3 separate regions of the Homo sapiens genome follow, and all the other regions are linked to region 3. The links are contacts of gene promoters, found by promoter capture Hi-C in human tissues and cell types (Jung and others, 2019). All regions are on one chromosome and are shown on one strand. The core of a region is centred on a gene start or on the middle of the fragment in contact, and the rest is flanking DNA. Distances in the headings are between cores, read along the strand shown. Region 1 overlaps CORIN (corin, serine peptidase). Region 2 overlaps NFXL1 (nuclear transcription factor, X-box binding like 1). Region 3 holds the start of CORIN (corin, serine peptidase).

Evidence for each region. The method cuts DNA at HindIII sites, captures the fragments that hold promoters and counts their contacts. A contact is called where the count stands out against the background at its distance.
Region 1: a fragment that was not itself captured here is called in contact with the fragment with the promoter of CORIN in region 3 in 1 of the 25 tissues and cell types used here (pancreas).
Region 2: a fragment that was not itself captured here is called in contact with the fragment with the promoter of CORIN in region 3 in 1 of the 25 tissues and cell types used here (hippocampus).

What each region holds. Positions count from the first base shown.
Region 1 is chr4:47,779,126-47,782,900 of GRCh38, reverse strand. All of the region lies in intron 3 of CORIN (corin, serine peptidase), which reads left to right. Among named protein-coding and RNA genes, the nearest start is that of CORIN, 57 kb to the left of the region's middle. The HindIII fragment of the contact is 4,404 bases long and covers 1-3,775 here.
Region 2 is chr4:47,876,773-47,880,169 of GRCh38, reverse strand. NFXL1 (nuclear transcription factor, X-box binding like 1) reads left to right here. Exons shown (of 23, transcript NM_001278624.2): 16 at 1,053-1,074; 17 at 1,505-1,645. The region is part of intron 2 of LOC101927179 (a long non-coding RNA gene); the gene reads right to left. Among named protein-coding and RNA genes, the nearest start is that of NFXL1, 36 kb to the left of the region's middle. The HindIII fragment of the contact is 5,360 bases long and covers 1-3,397 here.
Region 3 is chr4:47,836,134-47,839,840 of GRCh38, reverse strand. It overlaps CORIN (corin, serine peptidase), which reads left to right and starts at 1,774. Exons shown (of 22, transcript NM_006587.4): 1 at 1,774-1,954. The coding sequence starts at 1,892. All of the region lies in intron 1 of LOC101927179 (a long non-coding RNA gene), which reads right to left. The HindIII fragment of the contact is 9,769 bases long and covers 1-3,707 here.

The sequences.
Region 1 (3,775 bases), core at 649-3,148, 57 kb after region 3:
CCTTTCCCTCAGCTCCTGGCCAAAACTAATCTAGTTTCAATCTCTATGGATTTTCTTATTCTGAAACTTTTATATAAAAAGCAACAGACAATATGTGGTCCTTTGTATCTGCCTTCTTTTATTTTGCATGATGTTTTCAGAATGCATCCGTGATATAGCATGTGTCAGTATTTCATTTCTTTTTAGTGCTGAGTAATATTCCTTCATATGGCTCTATCACATTTTCTTTATCCAGTCATCCATTGTTGGAAATTAGGATTGCATATACATTTTTTAAAACTATTATCAATAATGCTTCTGTGAATATTCACGTGCAAGTTTTTGTGTGAAAACGTTTCTGGTTCTCTTGGGTTTATACCTAGAAGTGGAATTGTGTTATTTCTCTGTTTCCTTACTTGTCTTCAGTCTAGTTGTTCTATCCATTATTGAGAGTGGGGTATTCAAGTCTCCAACTATTATTGTAGATTTGTCTGTTTCTTGTCTTTTTTTCTTTCTTTCTTTTTTTTTTTTTTTCTTGAGATGGAGTCTTGCTCTGTTGCCCAGGCTGGAGTGCAGTGGCACGATCTCAGTTCACTGCAACCTTCGCCTCCTGGGTTCAGGCGATTCTCCTGACTCAGTCTCCTGAGTAGCTGGGATTACAAGCACACGCCACTATGCCTGGCTAATTTTTGTATTTTTAGTAGAGACAGGGTTTTGCCACGTTGGCCAGGCTGGTCTTGAACTCCTGACCTCAAGTGATCTGCCCACCTTGGCCTCCCGAAGTGCTGAGATTACAGTCATGAGCCACTGCGCCTGGCCTTCTTTCAGTTCTATCAATTTTTTGCGTCAGACATTTTGACGGTCTGTCATTAGGTGTGTAAATATTTACAATTGTTGTATCTTCTTTTTATATTGAACCTTTTATTAATATAAAATGTCCTTCTTTATTTCTTCTAACCATTTTTGATTTATTTTTCTTTTTTTGAGATGGAGTCTTGCTCTGTTGCCCAGGCTGGAGTGCAGTGGCATGATCTCGGCTCACTGCAACCTCTGCCTTCCAGGTTCACGCGATTCTCCTGCCTCAGCCTCCTGAGTAGCTGGGACTACAGGCGCATGCCACCATGCCTGGCTAATTTTTGTATTTTTACTAGAGACACGGTTTCACCATGTTGGCTAGGATGGTCTTGATCTCCTGACCTTGGCCTCCCAAAGTGCTGGGATCACAGGAGTTAGCCACTGCGCCCAGCCACCGTTGTTGATTTAAAGCCTATTTTGTGGATACTGATTCTCCTCAACTTATTATGGAGTTATATCCTTATAAACCCATTGTAAGTTGAAACTATTGTAAGTCAAAAATACATTTAATACATCGAACCTATAGAACATTGTAGCTTAGCTTAGCCTTCACCTTAAATGTGCTCAGAACATTTACATTAGCCTACAGTTGGACAAACCATCTAATACAAACCCTATTTTATAATAACATATTGGACAGCTCGTGTATTTTATTGTACACCTTACTGAAAGTGAAAAACAGAATGGTTATATGAGTACTCAAAATACAGTTTCTATTAAATGTGTGTCACTTTTGCACAATTGTAAAGTTGAAAAATTATAAAAGTCAAACCATCATAAGTGAGTCATCCCACTCTCTTCTTTTGGTTATTATTTGCAGGGAATATTTTTATGTATCCTTTCACTTACAACCTATTTGTGTCTTTGAATCTAAAGTGAGTCTGTGGTAGACAGCATATAGTTGGATTATGGTTTTTTTAACCCATTCTGCCAATCTCTGTCTTTTGATTGAAAAAATTTAATCCATTAATATTTAAAGTAATTACTGATGAAGACCTACTTCTGTCATTTTGCTATTTGTTTTTTATATACCTTGTAGCTTTTTTTCATCCCTCATTTCCTGGATTACTGCCTTCTTTTGTGTTTAGTTTTTTTTTTAATATTGAAACGTTTAAATTCCTTTTTCATTTCCTTTGTCATATATATATATATAAAATCTCAAAGGATATATATATATTCGATAGCTATTTTATTTATGGTTACCATTGGCATCATATTTAACATCTTAAAGTTACAGCACTCTAACTTGAATTTATACCAGTTTAACTTCAATAACAAACAAAAACTCTGTTCCTTTAACTGCTCTGTCCCACCTCTGAAACTTTCAAACATTCAATAGAATCCAGAGTTCCAAAATAGTTATATCAGACAGATTCTGCCAGTGCAATTGTTGTCTAGGTGGGGAGACAGATTGCTGGTGTTTCCTATCCCACCATCTTTCCAGATGCTCTCTAGTAAAAAAAAATTAACTTTGACAGTTTTTTTTCCCAGTGTTTTCACTGCTTTTGTGGAGGAGTAGATTTTTGGAGGATCTTACTTTGCTGTTCTGGGATTATTTCCTACTCCTCAATTGTTTTTACCTTATTTATTCACTCTGATTTCTTCTTTTTCATTTCCTTCAATATGGGGAATTGATTTTTCTCTTTTATATAATGTATGAATGTGATTATGATATATATGTTATTTGTAATTGAAGTTTTTATTTCCCATTTTTGCATAAATTCCTTCATTTCTTCTCCTTTCCTCTGCCTAAGAAGAACCTAATAGCCAAATATGTATGATTTTATAGTTTTCTCCATCCTCTTACAATCTTATATGAACATATACACATACATGTACACAGGATAATATTCACATAGAGGATTTGGGTCATTGTTTTTATTACTTTTTTTTTTTTACAAAATATCTTTCCCATCCAAGAATACTTCAAGTTAGTATCTTCAAGGCAATAGCTTAATTCTAATCTATTGTTATAATGACTAAATAGTATTCCATGTTGTCATTATACCATAATTTATTTCAACCATTTCCCCAATAATGGGAATTCACTTTATATCTAGCTTTTTCCCCCTCAGTGAACTACATAGTCTTCTTTCTGAAGAAAAAATGATTTGGATGATGACCATGATGCTGTCTAAATTGCAGTGATTTATTTACATTGATAACTAGACATGGACCGAAATGCCCTAAACTCATACCCAAAAGTTACTGGGTGTAGAAAGCTTACGCACCAATTCAAAACCCTTAGGTTGTTCTTTCTTCTTAGTTTTATGTTTTTAACATGAGATGTTTTCATTAGCTTTAACATGAGCTCTACAAGAATATACAGCTGGCCAGGCACGGTGGCTCACACCTGTAATCCTAGCACTTTGGGAGGCCGAGGCAGGTGGATCACCTGAGGTCAAGAGTTCGGGACCAGCCTGACCAACATGGTGAAACCTTGTCTCTACTAAAAATACAAAAATTATCCAGGCATGGTGGCAAACACATGTAATCCCAGCTACTCGGGAGGCTGAGGCAGGAGAATCACTTGAACCTGGGGGCGGAGGTTGCAGTGAGCCGAGATCGCACCACTTCACTCCAGCCTGGGTGAAACAGCAAAACTCCATCTAAAAAAGAAAAAAAAAAAAGAAAAAAAAAAGAATATGCAGCTAAGAGGATCAGAGCAGGCCTTGGAGTTTTACCTGGATTACTACTCATCAGGCAACTATCTTAGAGGAGAGTTTGAGAAAGGGAGTCTAATTAGATATCTGAAATCTGGTAAATCTCTTACCCGTTAAGGATGTTGGCCAGGCTGGTCTCAAACTCCTGACCTTGAGTGATCCGCCTGCCTCAGCCTCCCAAAGTGCTGGGAATACAGGCGTGAGCCTCTGTGCTCGACCTATAACCATTATTTTATAATAGGGATGAGCATAAATAATATCTTGAAATGTTTGTAACA
Region 2 (3,397 bases), core at 234-2,733, 41 kb before region 3:
CCTGTCTCAGCCTCCTAAAGTGTAGGGATTACAGGTGTGAGCCACTGCACCCAGCCTTTGTGGCTTTTCATTCTCTAAATGTTCTTTTCAGAGCTGTAATTTTTAGTATAATGACGTCTATCATCCATTTTTATTTCATGGATTGTGCTTTTGGTGTTGTATCTAAAAGTCATAATTAAACCCAAATTACCCAGATTGTCTGTGTTTTATAGTTTTGCATTTTACATTTAGAGCTGTGATTCATTTTGAGTTAACTGTTGTGAAAGGCTTAGGGTCTGCCTAGGTTTTTTTTGCAAGCAGGTGTCTATTTGTTCCAGCATGAATCATTTATTGAAAAGAATTTCCTTTCTTCATTCAATTACCTTTGCTCTTTTGCCAAAGATCAGTAGACTATGATTTGTGTGGTTCCATTTCTGGTCTCTCTGTTCTCTTCCATTCATTTATTTGCCTATTCTTTAATCAGTACCATTCTGTCTTGATCACTGTAGCTTTATAGTAATTCTTGAAGTTGGGTGGTGTCAGTCTTTGGACTTTGCTTTCTTTTGTATTGTGTTGGCTGTTCTGGGTCTGTTATCTTTCTATATAGACTTTAGAATCAGTTTGTTGATATATACAAAATAACTTGCTGGGATTTTGATTGGAATCATGTTGAATCTGGATCAAATTGGAAATAAACTACATCTTAATAATTTTGAGCCTTCATAACTGTGAACATGGAATATTGCTTCATTTATTTAAATCTTTGATTTCTTTCATCAGTATTTTGTAGTTGTCCCATAGAGATCTTGTATATATTTTGTTAAATTCATACCCAAGTATTTCATTTTTTGTGCTAATGTAGTGTTATGTTTTTAACTTCAAATTCTAATTGCTCATTGCTACTATATAGGAAATCAGTTGACCTTTGTATATTAACTTCGTGTCCTGTAACTTTACTATAATTGCTTATTCCATATGTATTTATTTTTTTAATGCTAGTAGAGTTAGCATCTTTAGGTATTATTTTTGAATAATTTGTAATGTTTTCATTTTATTTTATTTTTTCCTTGTAGGGAATGTCTTGGGAAACATGAGGTAAGTTACAGGCACAATTTTTAAGTAAAGCTTATAATCTATACTGTTACATACTAGTATAACTTTACTAGAGTTGTTAGAAATAACAAAGTCAAAGTATTGTTATTTTACTGTTATAAAGAGTACAAGAGTTTATCTACTAATTTAAAAAATATGTAGTGCCTTTATTTGAGAATTAGCCTGTGGATATGCATTCACTACAGAATCATATTGAATTTTCCTTTTAGGAGGAGAACATTTTGCTTCTTGGCATTCATTACTTTGAAATATTTTGACAGGTTACTTTGATTTTGATATTATTATTATTCGTGCAAACTTATACCTTTCTGAAACTTGTTCTCAAATGATAGCAGAGTAATTTTGGAAACATATAATATGTCCAGAAACGTTTGAGTAATGTGTGCTGTGCTGATTTCCTTTATTTTTTAAGGTGAGTCCACTACCATGCCATGCTGTAGGACCCTACTCTTGTAAAAGAGTTTGTGGAAGAATCTTGGATTGTCAGAATCACACATGTATGAAAGAATGCCACAAAGTAACCAAAACTGATGGCTGCACTGGAAAAAACAAGGTAATGTTCTTAGATTGAATGTATATCTGCCCATAGTATTCTTGAAACGTTTTTTCAACAGTTATACCATAAATATTTTTCTGTTTTGCTTTAGCTTCCTGTCTCTTTTTTTGCCCTCATCCCTTCTCCTTCTTTTCCTTTCCTAAGACAGCTGGCCTTAGACAGCTTGGTGTGTATAGTTCTGTGTCTTTATTCCAGCTCATAATAATGTGCCTTTTAATGTGGAACCCTTTACATACTGTACCTGTGTTAATACATAGGATATGGTTTTATGATAAAAATACATAGGTTATGTATCTTCTTAGATAGTAAGTAAGAGTATCACCTCCATTTCTCTCTGTTCATATCTGAGTTTAGAGCATTTACTCTAAGTTAGTTTTCAAACCTGACACACAGGATGGATGATGTTCATAATTTTAATAAATTTAAATAAATTCCCAATCTTTTGTTAAAAGTAAAATAAATGGCATCACAGATGAGCAGTGTTTCTGTGTGTATAATTAACTAAAAGCATTTTACAAGTGTATGAGAACTCAGCTTTTCAAAGATCTCTGAAAATTGTCATCTTACAAGGAAAAACAAATGTAGCTAGTGTTAAACTTTAGTTTTAAAATAATTTTTTTCTAGACTTCCGTTCTGTAGGGAGTTGTAATACTAGTGTCTAAATGAGAAATAGGCCAGAAAATTTTAAGTGTCACTTTATTATTAACATTAAATTTACAACTATTTAAATTATTAATATGACTTATGTTATTGAAAATTTTAGTTGCGTCGTTAGGTTATTTTTTTGGTCTTTAATTTATAATACATGACAACATAGGTATTCTTCTTTTTCATGTGCAAACATGTGTAAATGTATTGCTTTTAATTTCTTCATTGATCCATGCCTTGACCCTCAAAAATGTACTCATGATAAAACAAAAAAGATGCTAGAATTATAAAATCAAACTAACAAATAATGATACAAAATCATTTTAACTAGTTAGGGTGTAGCTGCTGTATGGCTTCCCTCTTCCAGATTTCCAGAATACGGAGTGAGTCAGAAAAAGCTTATTTTCAAAGCTGATATGACTATTAGAGATTTATTGTGGATTATCCCCAAATTGCTTCCTGGGTTAAAGCTTCTGTTTTTCTTTTTAAATGAGAACTGCGTATGATATTTGACAGATGGACTTGCTGTATTTCTTAACTAAGATAGTCTTTCCTAGAAGATAGAACTTGATATTGGAAGTGATCCAGGAAGATAATTTAGTAAGTGTAGATTCAGTGATTTTTTTTGTTTCTGCCATAGCTGGAAGGAGCTCATATTCTAAGTATACTCTTTGTTTTGCAGATAGGGAAACTGAAGCTCTGTGATTTGTCCATGATTCTGCAACAGGAGAGTAGCAAATCAGAAAGTACTGTGCCTGATCTTTTAACTCCCAGCCCAATGTGCTCTTCTACTCATGTTATTTAAATAGAAGATTTTTGTAGGTGTACCACATAGGAAGAGCAAATGAAATAAACTCTTTAGGTGAACTTTGGTTCTTTTTGCATATTTTGTTACTCACTGCCTAATATTTGCTCAGTCTTTCCCATCTCAGAAAGTCATTTTACCGTTTTTACCCAGTTGTGCAGATCAAAGACATAGGAATCATGCTTGATTTCTTTCTTGTCTTTGTTGTCCTTTTCCCACAGAAAATCCTGTTAGGTTTGTCATCAATAGATCCTGAATCTGACAGTTTCTCATAACCTGTACCACTACCACCCTCA
Region 3 (3,707 bases), core at 525-3,024:
ATAAAGAATATAAAACATCTTTACCCTCATTTTTTATGTCATTACCTTCATGCAAAGAATACCTCAGGTATTAATTCTGGTGCTGTTGGTAACTAGAACTGGTTGGGTTTTCTTGCTAAAAGGAAGTTTAAAAAATGTTTATTTTACACCATTAATGCAATTAGCTTTAGTTCTCAGAGGAACTAAAAGTGGAAAAGTGAGGGAGACTGATCGACCCTATCTCAAATCCACTGACGTAGCTACTTTAATTTCATAGTCCCTGTAGCACCTCCACCAGAGGGCAGAAAGTGGAAGAGAAAGAAGATGAAATAGAAACTTGTACTTGGCCTCAGAATGCCTGTAGAAACCTTAGCAATTGAATCCAGCCCTTATGTTATAGGCTGAGTTAACTGTGGCCCAGAAAGACTATGTGATTTGCTCACAGTTCTTGATTCCCAGACTGGCACTGCGGTGATGGTGTGTGATGAGGTAGTATCTTAGTAAGAACACAATCCAGAAGTCACTGCCTCGGGGGAATCCCAGCTCAGCTTCTTGCTAGCTTGCGTAGGCTGGTTACTTCACTTCAGCTCCCTGAATCTGCTTTCTTATCTCTAAAATAAAAATAATAGCTTCTTCCTCAGAGTAGTTGGTGGAACTGAAAGAATACATGTAAAGTGCTTAGTATGACACCTGCCACATAATATGAACTGAATTATTGTGAATTATGATAAATTTGTCAGATACTGGTTTACAAATCGGATGTTAGAATAACATGGAATCAGTGTTTCAGTCATTTTACTATACATATGCAATATTTTCTACATTTGATCTCACTTCAGAAACAAAATACTGCCCCCCCCATTTTACAAATGCATATTTTTTTCTCAGCAATAATGTTCAAGAACAAGTGCTTGGCCCATATTTTGTTGTCTTTACATGGCTTTCTTTAAATAATGGGGATGGATTTATTAAATAACCTCATGAGTAATTTTCAAAATTTCCATTAAGATCTTGATTGAAATTGGATGAAAAATCATTTCTAAGAAAAACCCAATGAAGTGTTTTTCTTTGCCACATTTGACAATTGCCTTGGACTTGGTAAAGTAATCATTACTGTGTTGAGTACCTCCAGTGCCCTCCTTGACGCTGCCTTAGAAAAGGTAGCTGCTTTTGAATGACAGGCAGGAATTTGTTCGCCTTTTAGGTTCAGCCTGTAGGTGCCCTCTGCAGGAAATCAGGAACTAGGGTTTTGGAAGCAGTCAGGGTGGGGTTCTCCCTTGTCCCTGCAGCCTCAGCAAAGACTCAGGCAGTCTGGCAAAAGCAGTTTCTTCAGCATACCTAACAGAACGCAAGTTTCCATATGCCTGATGCAAATAATGGCCTCCAAACGTTAAACCTTTTTTGAGATAAACTTGTTCTTTAATTGCCAGCGCCTGCAGTTAATTTTGATTGGCTACACTCTGGTTAAAAGAAAATGCTTTCGATGTGATATGGCAAATTTGGAGAAAAGTAACTCTTTTGCTCCCAACCAGTCTTCCACAACTTAAACTTAATCGTCCTGTCCTTTTCTGCTGCCCTCGTGGAGTGTAAGTTTTTGAGGGAGACCAGCAGAAACTGACTTTCCATATGCCCCTGAAGAATAACTTCTTTGAATGCAAAGAGGTGGGGACACGGAGGATCTGTCATTACGGGTTATTATGGGTGGGACCCAGAGACGGGAGTGAAGGGAGGGTGTGGCCCGCGGGTGGGATCTGTAGAGCAGACAAAATATGGGGCCCCTGGCGCTTAAAGTTCAGTTTGTCTCTCTTGAGCTTGGAGAAAATCATCCGTAGTGCCTCCCCGGGGGACACGTAGAGGAGAGAAAAGCGACCAAGATAAAAGTGGACAGAAGAATAAGCGAGACTTTTTATCCATGAAACAGTCTCCTGCCCTCGCTCCGGAAGAGCGCTGCCGCAGAGCCGGGTCCCCAAAGCCGGTAAGATCGATGATTCGCTGTCCTACCGCAGCCAGGTGTGATGGCCTCTTAGTCCCGGTGAATTCAGGGTCAGCCCCTCCCGCCCCCGTCCTCTCCTCCGCCCGATGCCACCTCCTTCCCCAGCCGCCGGTGAGCTCCCGCTCTGACAGTTCCGCGCTCAGCGCCCTGCACCCAGTTCCCAGGCGCACGGCCCTGGTCCCGACCACCACCCCGGTCGCCCGGCGTCCGAGACCCTCCCAGGGTCATGGGCAGGGTTTCCTTCAGTGTTCGAGTCGGCTCGATCCGGAGACCCCGGTCTCCATGCCGGGGGTGATGCCACCTTTCCTGCAGAGTCCCTCCTCCGCACGGTGCCCTCCAAGCATCTAGTGGACTTGGCTGCACACTGGCGGCAGGGGAGGCTGCAGGTGGAGCTGTCGGAGCCAGCCCCTCGGGGATCTACAGCTTCCTGTCTGCGCCGGCGTCTCGGGCGCCGGGTGGCTGGAGGGACTGTGCAGCAGTCTTGCCTGCCCCAGACGTAAGCCCCCTTCCCCAGCTGCGAGCGCCTGGGTGTCGGTCCCTCCACAGCCCGGGCTCGCGCTTGGTTCCCCGGCCCCCAGTTGGTGCCTGGGGATCACTCGCCCGTCCTAAGTGCTGGCATCCCAGAACTGGCCCTCTTGCAGAGTGCTGGGAACTTGTAGGTCCCTGCGTGCAAACTTTCTCCGGCGTGAACCTGCCTAGGCACAGGAGGGCTGGCCGCCGGGGGCGCAGGCTCTGCGCTGTAGGATTTGGTTGGCTCAGATCCAGTCCTGGGAAGGGGCAGCGTTGGCTCTCGTTCAGGAGGAGAAAGAAAGGGAAGGGCACCACGGACAGTCCCTACTGGCCTGAGCCCCCAGGAAGAAGGTCTAATTTGCGGCTGCCCCTCTCCTTCGGTGTCATTAGGGCCCCGGAATCCGCTTGCTACCGCGAGGGTCCCAGCTGCTCCGAATCGGGGACCGACCGGTGACGCTAGCTGCAGGCAGAGAGGGCAGGCTGTGCGGGCGGAAGGGAGGTGGTGTCTTGTCGGATCTTACTGGGACCCAGTTCCTGAGCTCCCGTGGCAGGCGCCTCACTCCTGCTACTACCTGCTCGGGGCCAGTGGATGGCAGTGTACGCGCTTTTTGCACGGCTCCCGGTTCCTGGGACCGAGCCCTGGGAGCTCTGACTTTGAATTCAGCAGGGAAGCTTCGGGGCTGGGCATTCCCAGGGAAGCTGTTCGAGTAATTCATAAAGTGGAGCTTTCCTCCCGCGGGAAACTTCTGAGAACGATGCGCTGCGAAGACGGACTCCTGTACAAGACTTCGATGACTGACATAGGCACAATTGTGGCTTCTAGTTTTTATTTTAACTTTTTATTTAAAGTAACTTATCGATGGAAGCGAAACTCTGCAAAGGAACGTCAGACCGCTACCAGAAAGGGGGTGAAGTCAGGACTTACTGGTGATTATTGTCCAAGGACACATTTAAGCAGATAGTTTTGAAATTAATTTTGGCATAACCCTGAGACAATGAGAAGAAACAATGCATTTATAAAAAGTTATTAAACCATTTTTTTTTGTCACAGTCAAAACATTCATTAGCTTGTTTCTATTATTAGGTGCCCAATAGGTTTGTTGTGTGAGATTGTGCTAAAAATTGGTCCTCAGATCCTGGGACTTGAGAGGTTAGAGGAGGTTCCTGGGGCTTGCGAGGTTAGAGGAGATGTCTGCATAGACTCACGTGTGGGCTTGGCTGACCA